Regions from separate parts of the Homo sapiens genome. Here region 2 is linked to region 1. Evidence: promoter capture Hi-C in 16 types of primary human blood cells and fetal thymus (Javierre and others, 2016). All regions are on one chromosome and are shown on one strand. The core of a region is centred on a gene start or on the middle of the fragment in contact, and the rest is flanking DNA. Distances in the headings are between cores, read along the strand shown.

Region 1 (7,038 bases), core at 1,685-4,184:
GTAGGAGAAAGTTACAGTGAGGGAAGAAAATCAGTCTGCTCAAGAATCTGCAACTTCCTAAATTGGAACATTTCATTTTCCCCTTTCTGGAAAACATCTCCTTCTTTTCTATCTATAAATGTTCATATCACAGAGGCATAGGAAAGATGGTAACCAAAGAGGGCTGGAGGACAGGTAACTTGTAGGGAGAAAACAAGCTCTTCCTAATCTTTTCAAGGTTTTAGACATGTGAACCTAAAAAGTTTTTAACAAGACAAGAAGATTGTTGAGTCCTGACTATTCACTGGCTGCGTTTTTTGCAAATTAAAGTGATCTCATGCCCATATCAGTTTTCCTTTTTCTTTGGAAATATTTACATTAAATTGAGATCTGAGGGGAAGATAGCGCTCTAACTGGGATCCTGCTTTTAATATAATTTGAAAATAGCTGCAACCCCAATCCACCTTCCTGGTGGCCCAGAAATGCCACCCTTTTTGTTTGTTTGTTTGTTTTTGTTGTTCATAGATTAGTTCACAAATACAATAATTAGAAATACATGACTGGGCTGAGCACGGTGGCTCACACGGGTAATACCAGCACTTTGTGAGGCTGAGACAGGAAAATTGCTTGAGCTAGGAATTCCACACCAGTCTGTGCAAGATAGGAAGACCCCATCTCTACAAAAACCTTAAAAATTAGCCAGGCATCGTGGGGCACACCTGTAGTCCCCAGCTACTCCAGAGGCTAAGGTGGGAGGATCACTTGAGCCTGAGACATCAAGGCTACAGTGAGCTGTGATTGTGCCACTACACTCCAGCCTGGGTGATAGAGCAAAACCCTGTCTCAAAATAATAATAATAATAATAATAATAATAATAATAATAATAATTTAAAAATAAATACATAACTGAAAAGATTTAATAATGCTGCATAGCTTATATCCATCTCAATCCCTCTCTTTGTCTTTCTCTCATGCTTTTTAAAATTGAAGTAAAACTCCCATAATATAAAATTTATAATTTTAGTCATTTTTGAAGTGTACAATTCAGGGATTTTTAGCATATTCACAATGTTATGCAATCATCACCACTATCTAATTCCAGAACATTTTCACCACTCAAAAAAGAAAGCTCATACCCATTAAGCAGTCCTTCCTCTTTCCCCTCTGCCCCCAGCCCCTGGCAACCACTAACGTACCTTGTCTGTATGTATTGCCTGCCCTGGGCATGTCATATAAATGGAATCATGCCACACGTGGCCTTTTGTGTCTGGCTTCTTTCCCTTTGCATAGTGTTTTCAAGCTTCGTCTACGCTGAAGCAGGTATTAGTACTTCATTTCTTTTTATGGTTGAATACTATTCCATTGTATGGATATACCACAATTTATTAATTCAGCAATTGATGGATATTTGGATTGTTTCTAATTTTTGGCTATTATGAATAGTGCTGCTATGAATGTTCATGCACAAGTTTTTGATTAAACACCTGTTTTCAATTTTGAGGAGTAAATAGAAGTGGAATTGCTGGCTCATATGGTCATTCTTTTAAACTTTTAAACTTTTTAAGCAATTGCCAAAATTTTTTTCTGAAGTTGCTGCATCATTTTTTATTCCCACCAGCAATGTATGAGTGTTCTAATTTCTCCACATTCTCACTAACGTTTATTTTTTGTTTTTAAAAATGTTCTTATAGCCATCCTAGTGGGTGAAAAGTGGCATCTCAAAAAAATAAAAATAAAAAGCATTCTCACGTCAGGTCTTAAGTTTTCTTCTTTTGTATATGAGGCCACAAAATTGAGAGAAATTTTCCCTAAGATGAGCTGAAAGTGAATTTAATGAAATTCTGAACAACAGAGCTGTTTTTCACTGACTCCCATCACACACTTCCCAAAGAGCAACCATGATCAAAGCCAAGGCATCTAAATAATGACTGTTGAAATCCAAGCTCCCAGAGGTACAGATAGTCAGGTGTCTTTAGTCAGTGATTGGCAGAGGCATCTAAGGCATTATATGAGGCTTGGCTAGTAAAATGCTCTTCTGGGATTCTGGGACAATACCCACTCTCTTTTCTTTTAACTTAATGAACATTTATTTTCTCTCCATATGTGCTGTATTTGTAAAGGAAAAATAAATATAACTAAACACCAATTGTACATTCCACTTTAAAGAAGGCAATTTGTTCAGGTAAAATAATGGGTTAAAACAGTTTCAGCCGTATGAAATTTCAAATTCCATCCTAGCACATTCCTCATTAATAATTGCACACATTCCTATGAAAGTCTGTCATTTATTTTAGTCTTTGATTGCTATCATCAACACACTACAGAAGTTATTCTTTCCTGTTCAAGACAATTAGTTTTGGGAACTAAAACACATGCAGTATATGTAAGTGATTACCTGGATAAAGCAACAGGGCATTAGGAAATATACTTTTTTGTTTTTAATTTCTGCATCCATTTCTTCATTCTGGACCGGTACAGATAGCCTCCATGAGGAGTTTAGCCTCTCCTTGGAGTAAACTCTACTGAGAGGAGGAAAACTGAGACTTACAGTACAGCGGGCACAGCCTGGTTGAGGAGAAGGAGAAACTAAGGAAAAACTGGAGACAGCAAAGCTTGAAGGAGGCAGAGCACTAAGCTGCTGCGGGTCACTCTTCCTGTGAACAGGCTAGTTTCAAATAAAGGCTTGCAGGGATCTTACCGAGCAAAGCAACGTTTATGAAAAGGAACAGGGAAGTTGCATGGAGTGTGATTCTTCCTTCCACAGGAACAGTTGGAAAGCCAAAGAGACCCTAGAGTAAGAATGGTGGTAAGTCCCAGGGTTCGTTTAAAATCCTGATAACGGAACATACATTCTTTCTTACGGGAAAACCGTTTTGATTCTTAAATGAAGTCAGTGAGCTTCAGGCTTGCCTACATTGATATCTCCTAATGGTTTGGGCACGTGACCCAGAGCCAGCTCACAAATCAAGCCTCAGAAAGAGCTGACATCCTAGCTCTTCCCGGAAAAACTCGAATGTCGCCCTGCCGTTCCTGGGGTTGGTGACAGGTCTGGTCATCGCACGGCGGCAGCTCCTCACCTGGATTTAGAAGAGCTGGCGTCCCCGCCCGCCCAAGCCTTTAAACTCTCGTCTGCCAGAACCCGCCAACTCTCCAGGGTACAAAGTACAGCAGGGACGCGGGTGGAGCCCTTCCAAGCGGCGCAGCCTTATCTTTCCCGAGTGAACACCTAGGTGGATTCCCAACACCGCGCCTGGCACGTTTCTGGAGGGAGTCTCAAGCTCCTCCAGAGCTCCCAGCTGCGCGTCCTCGTTTCTGCAGTCGATATTCCTGTGGGAGACACGGGGGGCTCTGAGCGCTACGAGCTTTATTAAGAGATTTGCGAATGGTTCACTCAGGTCCCTGAACACTCCCAATAGCCTAAGCTGCCTGCTGTGTTATAGCGCAGAAGCCCCTAACGCACGGTGGTTGTCCTTTCTTCTCATAACGCTCGCAGCTTAGGGCCAGTTTCCGCGATTCTAAGAGTAATTGCGTGGGCACCTGTGCTGGGGCCAGGCGCAAAGAAGGGAGTTGGTCTGCGCGAAGATCGTCAACCTGCTAACAGACCGCACATGCACTTTGCACCGACCATCTACGTCTCAGTCTGGAGGTTGCGCACTTTGGGTAAGGAGGGCCCGGAACTTCCCTGGCGGGTCTGAGCTGCAAGGCAAGCGAGGGTGGGAAGAGGGAATTTAGGGTTCTGGACTGCGGGACGGGAGAGAAGCTGGGGTCTCCAGAGAAAAGGGCAGCAATGGAGGGAAACTGAGATGAACTCCAGACATCCATGTTCATGGATCCGTTTGAGTCTTTGCTTTGGGTAGGAGAGGAGTGGAATGAGACAGAATCTATACCTTTGGTTCCCACCCGCCCTCCAGTAAGGCCGAGGAACTCTCTTGGTTCCTCTGAGAGCAAGAGGCAGATGGTGCTGCGAGGGAACCCCGGAAGGAGCCACTAAAGTTGAGCAGAGTGCAGGACTGGGAAGGAAAAAAATGGGGGGCGGGGGGGACAAGCCACCTATGTGCTCTCCTCCCTTTCTCCACCCCACCCCCTTTTTTCGTAGCTGCTGACGCGCTGGTGGTGCCTATTAATCATTTACCAGTCCAGAGCCGCGCCAGTTAATGGCTGTGCCGTGCGGTGCTCCCACATCCTGGCCTCTCCTCTCCACGGTCGCCTGTGCCCGGGCACCCCGGAGCTGCAAACTGCAGAGCCCAGGCAACCGCTGGGCTGTGCGCCCCGCCGGCGCCGGTAGGAGCCGCGCTCCCCGCAGCGGTTGCGCTCTACCCGGAGGCGCTGGGCGGCTGTGGGCTGCAGGCAAGCGGTCGGGTGGGGAGGGAGGGCGCAGGCGGCGGGTGCGCGAGGAGAAAGCCCCAGCCCTGGCAGCCCCACTGGCCCCCCTCAGCTGGGATGTTCCCCAATGGCACCGCCTCCTCTCCTTCCTCCTCTCCTAGCCCCAGCCCGGGCAGCTGCGGCGAAGGCGGCGGCAGCAGGGGCCCCGGGGCCGGCGCTGCGGACGGCATGGAGGAGCCAGGGCGAAATGCGTCCCAGAACGGGACCTTGAGCGAGGGCCAGGGCAGCGCCATCCTGATCTCTTTCATCTACTCCGTGGTGTGCCTGGTGGGGCTGTGTGGGAACTCTATGGTCATCTACGTGATCCTGCGCTATGCCAAGATGAAGACGGCCACCAACATCTACATCCTAAATCTGGCCATTGCTGATGAGCTGCTCATGCTCAGCGTGCCCTTCCTAGTCACCTCCACGTTGTTGCGCCACTGGCCCTTCGGTGCGCTGCTCTGCCGCCTCGTGCTCAGCGTGGACGCGGTCAACATGTTCACCAGCATCTACTGTCTGACTGTGCTCAGCGTGGACCGCTACGTGGCCGTGGTGCATCCCATCAAGGCGGCCCGCTACCGCCGGCCCACCGTGGCCAAGGTAGTAAACCTGGGCGTGTGGGTGCTATCGCTGCTCGTCATCCTGCCCATCGTGGTCTTCTCTCGCACCGCGGCCAACAGCGACGGCACGGTGGCTTGCAACATGCTCATGCCAGAGCCCGCTCAACGCTGGCTGGTGGGCTTCGTGTTGTACACATTTCTCATGGGCTTCCTGCTGCCCGTGGGGGCTATCTGCCTGTGCTACGTGCTCATCATTGCTAAGATGCGCATGGTGGCCCTCAAGGCCGGCTGGCAGCAGCGCAAGCGCTCGGAGCGCAAGATCACCTTAATGGTGATGATGGTGGTGATGGTGTTTGTCATCTGCTGGATGCCTTTCTACGTGGTGCAGCTGGTCAACGTGTTTGCTGAGCAGGACGACGCCACGGTGAGTCAGCTGTCGGTCATCCTCGGCTATGCCAACAGCTGCGCCAACCCCATCCTCTATGGCTTTCTCTCAGACAACTTCAAGCGCTCTTTCCAACGCATCCTATGCCTCAGCTGGATGGACAACGCCGCGGAGGAGCCGGTTGACTATTACGCCACCGCGCTCAAGAGCCGTGCCTACAGTGTGGAAGACTTCCAACCTGAGAACCTGGAGTCCGGCGGCGTCTTCCGTAATGGCACCTGCACGTCCCGGATCACGACGCTCTGAGCCCGGGCCACGCAGGGGCTCTGAGCCCGGGCCACGCAGGGGCCCTGAGCCAAAAGAGGGGGAGAATGAGAAGGGAAGGCCGGGTGCGAAAGGGACGGTATCCAGGGCGCCAGGGTGCTGTCGGGATAACGTGGGGCTAGGACACTGACAGCCTTTGATGGAGGAACCCAAGAAAGGCGCGCGACAATGGTAGAAGTGAGAGCTTTGCTTATAAACTGGGAAGGCTTTCAGGCTACCTTTTTCTGGGTCTCCCACTTTCTGTTCCTTCCTCCACTGCGCTTACTCCTCTGACCCTCCTTCTATTTTCCCTACCCTGCAACTTCTATCCTTTCTTCCGCACCGTCCCGCCAGTGCAGATCACGAACTCATTAACAACTCATTCTGATCCTCAGCCCCTCCAGTCGTTATTTCTGTTTGTTTAAGCTGAGCCACGGATACCGCCACGGGTTTCCCTCGGCGTTAGTCCCTAGCCGCGCGGGGCCGCTGTCCAGGTTCTGTCTGGTGCCCCTACTGGAGTCCCGGGAATGACCGCTCTCCCTTTGCGCAGCCCTACCTTAAGGAAAGTTGGACTTGAGAAAGATCTAAGCAGCTGGTCTTTTCTCCTACTCTTGGGTGAAGGTGCATCTTTCCCTGCCCTCCCCTGTCCCCCTCTCGCCGCCCGCCCGCCACCACCACTCTCACTCCACCCAGAGTAGAGCCAGGTGCTTAGTAAAATAGGTCCCGCGCTTCGAACTCCAGGCTTTCTGGAGTTCCCACCCAAGCCCTCCTTTGGAGCAAAGAAGGAGCTGAGAACAAGCCGAATGAGGAGTTTTTATAAGATTGCGGGGTCGGAGTGTGGGCGCGTAATAGGAATCACCCTCCTACTGCGCGTTTTCAAAGACCAAGCGCTGGGCGCTCCCGGGCCGCGCGTCTGCGTTAGGCAGGGCAGGGTAGTGCAGGGCACACCTTCCCCGGGGTTCGGGGTTCGGGGTTCGGTTGCAGGGCTGCAGCCCGCCTTGGCTTTCTCCCTCACCCAAGTTTCCGGAGGAGCCGACCTAAAAGTAACAATAGATAAGGTTTCCTGCTCCAGTGTATCTCAAAAGACCGGGCGCCAGGGGCGGGGGACCTAGGGCGACGTCTTCAGAGTCCGCCAGTGTTGGCGGTGTCGCCGCAACCTGCAGGCTCCCGAGTGGGGCCTGCCTGGTCTCTAGAGGGTTGCTGCCTTTCAAGCGGTGCCTAAGAAGTTATTTTCTTGTTTAACATATATATTTATTAATTTATTTGTCGTGTTGGAAAATGTGTCTCTGCTTTCCTTTTCTCTGCTTGCCTAGCCCCAGGTCTTTTCTTTGGGACCCTGGGGGCGGGCATGGAAGTGGAAGTAGGGGCAAGCTCTTGCCCCACTCCCTGGCCATCTCAACGCCTCTCCTCAATGCTGGGCCCTCTTATCTCATCCTTTCCTCTAG
Region 2 (7,038 bases), core at 3,114-5,613, 190 kb before region 1:
CTCCAAAAGTGTGTTTGGTAAAGATGAAAAGGATAATTAAGTTACTAAAATCCTACCATAATGGGTGATAGTTGAAACAATCAGAGATATTCAATCTAGAGAAAGAAAGCTTTGGAAAGCATCTGGTAGCTGCCTGACAATACTCAAATAGCTGTGATCTGAAAGTGAGATTAGACTGATTCTGAGGGAACCCAGAAGTGAAGACAGGGCCTTGCTGACCTGCATAGCCTCAGGACACTGTTCCCTGCCTCTATGCCACTCTGTCTCCAGCCTTGGCTCAAAGAAGCCCATGTGCAGCGTGGCCCACCACTTCACAGGGTGCAAGCTGTAAGCTTTGGTGGCTCCCGTGTATTTTTTTACAGCAATGCAAGAACAGACTAACACACCTTCATTTTAAAAGTTGCCCAAGAAGAGACGGGCAACTTTGTCAAGGAGTCAAATTGCTTTTGGGCTGTGGGGGAGGAGAATGGTGCTGTAACCCTTGATAATTTTAAGTTTGAAAGTTATTAAACTTAATCATATGTACTGGGGTAGCCCTCCCTGGCCCCTGAGGTGAAACTTACTGGAAGAAAAGTCACGTTCTTTATTCCAAAACTGTTAACACAAGCCTGTCAAAAGGTCCTAGAGAGCTAGCTCAAAGCACAGCCTATGGTGAACTCAGCATTTCTTTCATTATAAGGTGGTCTGTTAAGAGTTTGAGTGGGTGTGTGCTTGTGTGTGTGTGTGTGTGTGTGTATGTGTATATGTGTGTGTCACAGGAGAAGATAAGAATCATATCTTTTTACCCTGGGTTAATGTAGTTACACATTTTCTCTTCCCTCAATTCATGACAATGTCCTGTATCCCCTGTAGTTCTGAAGGTGCTGTGCTGTTGACAACACCCTGGTTATGGGCCTCTCCTCTGTGGACGTGGGCAGGCTATGTGGACAAGCTAGAGAGGATAGTTTCATCATCTGCAGCCAGTTCCAGTTGGTATCAGGGTCAGCTTCTTTGTGGCTGTTTGGATGGAGCAAAGTTACACATAATAGATGTGAATTTATATATGTGTGTTTGTGTGTAGAGAGGGTTGGTGGTAGATGAAAGGATGTATTGTCAAAATAGATATTTCCAGTCCATATCCAAAACTAATTTTTTGTGTCAACATAGGGCCTTATCAAAAAGCCCTTTTGTGAGTTTTCTGAACAAGGATATTCATGTTTTCAGCTGAACGTACTGCTAGGAAAGTCTCCTGAGGTGCAAGGACAGCAGGATATTTCAGGCTATAGTAAATGGCCCACTCTCCTTTCTTTGGTTATATTAATTTGAGAGACTACTCTTGGGTAGTCATTACAAGGTTGTAACACAAAGGATTCAGTCTCTTAGGGAAACTTTTTCCAGTTTCCTATAATGCTTTATGTGGGGAGACCAGAGGTAGTTGTAACACTGAGAAGAGAAAATTTGCCTTTTTCTGCTCTCTCCTGAGAAACTATCACCAAAAAGCCTGGTTTCTATGGCAGCTCACGCCTGGATCACTACAGTACTGCCAGACTCTGATTTTTGGCAGCAACATCAGCAAATACAATTAAGAATGATACATGTCAAGGGGTTGATGAACCTTTCCAGTGTCTTTTCTGTAAGTCACTAATAACCAGAACTGGCCTTTCCTGTTTGAATAAATACCACTGGCCTTCAATGATTTATTACGAAAAGGGAGTGAAACACTAGCAAGAAAAGTAAGACATTCTCTGGATAAGTGGGAGGAGCTCAAAGTGGATTAATTTGAACATTAAGGGGAATATAACCTTATTTTATGAAGTATAGTATGCCAGATAATATTGATTAGGATAAGCTAGCTCATGAAAAAGTCAGGATCATGCATACCATGACATAGGAAGAATCCAATGAGCCTGACTGGATTTCCGTCAAGCCAGATTTCAGACCCAGATTAATATCAACTGCCTTATCAGCAATACTTCATGGGTTTATAGCTCCTTTGTTAGTTTGGGAGTCTTATTCAGGTGTTGAGTGATCCTCTCTAAAGGTGAGACATTCAGCCACAAATTCAATAAATTTCAAGTACAAATATATTTGTTCAAAAATCTCAGCCTAAAAGTCTGCTGGGATGATGAGGAACGAAAGACACAAGGACTTTATTTTGCTAAGCCTAGTGAAAAAGGAAAATGCAAGTTCTCCAGATAGTAATGACATCCCCAATGAGCACTTCAACTACAAAGGAAGCAAAACTGAGTTAAAATTCATATGTCTGCAGGGGCTGATCATGAGACCGTTTGTAGAAAAGCTGGAACAGAAGATGCTGTTTAGCTCTACCTGTAAGGGTCTTGCCAGACATTGTATAAACATTTAACTCAAGGAGGAGCAAGAAATAGTGCCCATTATCTTCTGTGATAACACAGCATCTGATTACTTGTTCTCTCAGATACCCTGCAGTTCAGAGTATTAATTTCTCTATACCTTGAAGTGGCTGATAGCAATATCTTTCAGGTCTTTAATTAAAGGCTAAAAGCTGATTCTAGAATCTCTCCATTGTCTGGAGCTATTCTGATACAAACTCAACTTGCCACAAAGAATCTCTGAAAAAAAAAAAAAAGAAAATGAAAGAGAAAATAGTTGAAAAGAAAAATACCAGGTATTTAATTCAATCTCCATTAAGCTTTCCCTTCACATATAATCTTTGAGTTAGACAGTTCCTCTCCCATAAGGATAACACTTTCTTGTCACTAATCCCTGGATAACACAAGTCAGGGGAAACAGGAAATAGATACAATAATAGATTCGAGTCTCTGGATTTTTCATTTAGCCAATAGTAAGGTAGGAAAGTGGCCAGATAAAAAAATAAAACAGCACAGACAGAAAATATCTATTTGTCCATGGAGAGAACACAAGCACTTGATGGACAGAAGCCCAGAATATACAGGATTGTTTTTTCACACATAAAGCAATATTTTAAATACTCTGTGGTGTATTCATTTTAACTTAATCGAGCAAATGCAAATACATTAAAGAGTCCCATAGCAGCACTATTTTTAATAGCAACAAACAGAAAATAACTTGTTTATACTGTGACTATTATTTAGATATTATAGGTCACTAATTATTTAGATCAGGGGTCAATAAACTATGTTTTGTGGGCCAAATCCCGCCTATAGCCTGTTTTTGTCAAGTTTTATCAGAGTACAGCCATACCCATCAGTTATGTATTATCAATGGCAGAGTTGAATAGTTGTGACAGAGACCAAATATTTCACAAAGCCTGAAATATTTGCCATATGATTCTTTACAGAAAAAAAATCTGACAACCAGCAATATAAATGGTTGCACATATATTCAATGGAACACTCTGTTACAATTAAAAGAATGTAAAAGGTTGGTATATAACAACATAAAAAGATATCGATATCAAGAAAAAATGATTCAAAACAGTGTGTATGTAAGTATTTTCAGATTCCGTTTGCCTAAAAACAAAGCATATGCATATGCATCAAACTTCTGAAAGCATATACACACACAAAAATTTAATAATGATTACCTCTGGTGAATGAAATTAGGAAGTAGGACTGGGGAGAGGGAGAATGAAGAAAGGAGGGAGAATGAAGAAAGGAAAGAGGGAGAAACATTTATTTATATTTAATATCCCTCTATATCATCACAAATTTTAAAATGCCCATGTTATATAATTGAAAATAAACTAAAATGAGAATTATAGAAGCAATAGGAATTTAAGAATATTTTATTTGTAGAATGAATGAATGTAATTCTCAATGATATAATGCCAATTTTCTTTTCTTATGAATGTTTTTGTTGAATGTTTATGTAATATTTCCTGTGTCTTTGACTAAGAGTATGTGTTATCTCTTGCTTAAATATCTATCTGTGATTTTAGTATCACTATTTGCTTTAGATGATTACAACTTACCTCTTCATTAGTGAAGTGAAAAAAATCGCTAAGACATTTTATAACATATTTTTGCTGTGAGGAATTTCACATAATAGTGTTGTTTTCCAATATGATTTATAAAGCGCTATCTTAAACCTCTCGAGTTTTCACACAAATTTAACAATTTTTGGTGTTTCTAATTGTAGAGAAAGATGTTTGATTTGGGACAAATTATTTAAATATTTCATGATTTCTTAATTTGCAGCATAGAAAAATGTTACCTACCTTACCACATAAAATTTTTGTGTTAAGAAGGTTTTTAAGGGTTCCATAAATTATCAATTATTTCAAATATATTTATTTTGGCACAGTTTTAGTGCAATCAAAATGTGGACAGTCACAAGAAGATTTTTGATTGTAAGTGAGTAAGGAATCAATTAAAACAGTGTTCTAGAAGAACTGTAGTCTTGAATTTTAGACTCTTAGACCACAAACGAACCTGGAAAAGTCACACATAAACTGTACAAAATTAGATAATATGGGCTTCAAACAAAAACAACAGCAAGCTCTCTTTCGGTATGAAAACTCTACTTTTTTTTTTTTTTTTTTTTTTTTAAAGAGCCAGTCCTTGTTTTCTTGTCTCTAAAATGTGGATGGTTATACTGTATCTGCTTGCCAAATTCATAGAATTCTTGTGAAAATTAAATGGATTAATTTATGCTAGAGAAATCTATAAATTATAAATCTCTGTACAATAATTTTTCAAAATATGGTATGCAGATAATTTTCAGGGGGGTGACAAAATTTTTATGTTTTAATGATTACATATCTATATTTACTTCTTGTTTATGATGAGTGATATGCTACTTTTATTGTAGCTTCCTTTGAAATTAATGTATGGAGGTAAAAATGTGAGTCAACTTAAAAGAAAAGAAAATTACTAATACTATAGGTAAAATGTGGATATGACAAAAATCGTGATGATGGTATGTGCACAAGCGAAGTTCAGAAAACATTGCATTGTGAAGATATAAATTTGATTTAGATTTTCATATTTTAGTATATGGTTCTCAACTGGCATTGTTTAATTTGCTGTGGTTGCAAACATATTGTGTTAAAACAAGACATATGGAGCTCTTTTACAGCAAAAGAAGAAAGAAATGAAGAAACAGATGCCTGAAGCATTTGGGAAAGTAACTCCACTGCAGCTGAAATACTGGATGTTGCAGGGTCCATTGTCCCAAGTTAGTATAGGTTGCATTGATTTCATTGAAAGAAGAAAAACAACCATAGTTAGAGGACTGAAAAGTATACTTCTAGAGAGAGAGGGCCTGCAACATTTCTGAGAAATTAACTTTAGTTCACATTACCTTAAAAATTACTCTGGAGAAGTGTGATTTCTATGATGAGCACATCCTACTGCATGTCAGATCTGACTTCCCAGACCTGCCAGCCCAGTGAGACACTAAAGCTGCTTGAATTAAGTACAAGTAGCAACTAGGACATGGGTTGGCCTTTGGGAAACCACTTCTGTGTTTACAACCTAATGCTACTGGAATTCTGATTGAACCTTCATGACTTTAGGTGACAAAGGCATACCAAACTCAGGCTGGGAGGAAATGAGTTGGGGCAGTGGTGCCCATCTTCCTCTATGATCTACAAAGCAAAAATGTCATGCCATACCCCAGCAACAAGCTCACCCTCAAACTTCCTCTGATTCCTTTCCTAGTCTGCCCAGTAGACTGTTCCAAGAGAAGAAGTCCCTTCTCCAGGGCACCTGTACATTTTCCCCTCTTGTTTCCTTAAACCTGTGTTCTGCCTGAAAAGAATGCATTTTTTCCGCTCATCCAATTTCATGCCTTAGGAGTGCAAAAGCAAGCTACTGCATTGAAAATTGAGGAATTGATTCCCAGAGTCTCACAAAGCCCTGAAGCAGAGCAGTTCCAGTCTCTGCCCTTCAGTTAGGATATTGGTGCTTCCTGGTTTCTAGTACCTGCCTGTATGACTACTGATTTCTTATGTCTCTGCAAATTCCGGCGATAAGGAATTGCTTATGCAGCAGTTCAGAGGCAAGATGGAGTATCTCTTTCCATTATTTATTTAAAAAATTCTTTGAAGGCTGCCATTTAACCTCAGCAGGGAAGTTAGGATTTTTCACCCGCACATAGTGATTTTATTCCTCTGAAGCCTTATATGAATTATTAAGCTTTTAAGAAAAGAGAGCAAATAGAGTTTTGCAAGGTAATCAAAAGCAAATATGCTAATTTGGGTCTATAGGACAGTATTTTTATCAGAAGGAACATTAAGGTTAGCTCTGTTATTCATCTAAATTAAAGAAATCAAGAAAAAGAACAAGACTAGCAAATTACCTTTACTGATGGTCGAAATTAGCCCTATCTTGGACTCTTTCTTAATAGTCTTTCTCAGCATAAAACCTAGTTACTAGGATACAGCCGTGTGGCAGCATCTTTATTAGAAATTGTGTGGGAGAAAAAAAGGTCAGATACTCATTTCCAGTAACAGTTTGACAAGTAACACGGAGAAAAGGGCAGGAAGGAATTGAGGCTTGTGATGTTTTCTTATAGCAAGATTTTGAGATAATAGCACTTATGTGAATAGGAAGTCTCCAGGAATACATTTTATTAATCTCAGGGTTCAAAGAAAAAGACATGGTACCATATTATCATGAAAATTAAAACAAGCCTAAAAAGATACATAAATATCAGGTAAAGGACAAAAATATCATCATCTGTCACTGTTAAAATTTTTTTAAATCTTAACTCTAGCTATATCCAAAAGTCTTATAATTATATTGATAGAAGTCACATCTTCAATTACCATAATTGGTCAATAGTCAATAGTTAAAGGGCTTAAGCATTACAGAAAACTTTATAAGACCCAGGTGGGTCTCCTAAATCCCACAAAAAGGTCATTATCCCTCTCTGTACTGGTAGATCTTTGTATCAGAATAGAGATATATTTGTAAAATTTGTACTAATGAAAATTTCTTTGAGTTAAACTCCATCTTATCATTGTCTTCTAATGAAATTAAAGATATATTAATAAATTAGTAGGTTTTAATAATCAGAATTATGCCACTTTAGAGACATACTAATACATTTCCAAAATTCACATAAAGATGTCAAACCTCTATGGTTAAAAAG

Evidence for each region. The method cuts DNA at HindIII sites, captures the fragments that hold promoters and counts their contacts. A CHiCAGO score of 5 or more calls a contact.
Region 2: a contact is called between a fragment that was not itself captured here and the fragment with the promoter of SSTR1 in region 1, in 1 of 17 cell types (neutrophils). The highest score is 5.5, in neutrophils.

The regions. Positions count from the first base shown.
Region 1 is chr14:38,204,970-38,212,007 of GRCh38, forward strand. It overlaps SSTR1 (somatostatin receptor 1), which reads left to right and starts at 2,935. Exons shown (of 3, transcript NM_001049.3): 1 at 2,935-3,135; 2 at 3,474-3,640; 3 at 4,077-7,038. The coding sequence starts at 4,421. The coding sequence ends at 5,596. It overlaps LOC124903303 (a long non-coding RNA gene), which reads right to left and starts at 4,318. Exons shown (of 2, transcript XR_007064117.1): 1 at 4,113-4,318; 2 at 2,246-3,307. RefSeq lists enhancers at 2,737-3,398, 4,382-5,085, 5,086-5,788. The HindIII fragment of the contact is 9,392 bases long and covers 2,591-7,038 here.
Region 2 is chr14:38,017,045-38,024,082 of GRCh38, forward strand. The region is part of intron 3 of LOC105370456 (a long non-coding RNA gene); the gene reads right to left. Among named protein-coding and RNA genes, the nearest start is that of LINC00517, 120 kb to the left of the region's middle. The HindIII fragment of the contact is 3,430 bases long and covers 2,649-6,078 here.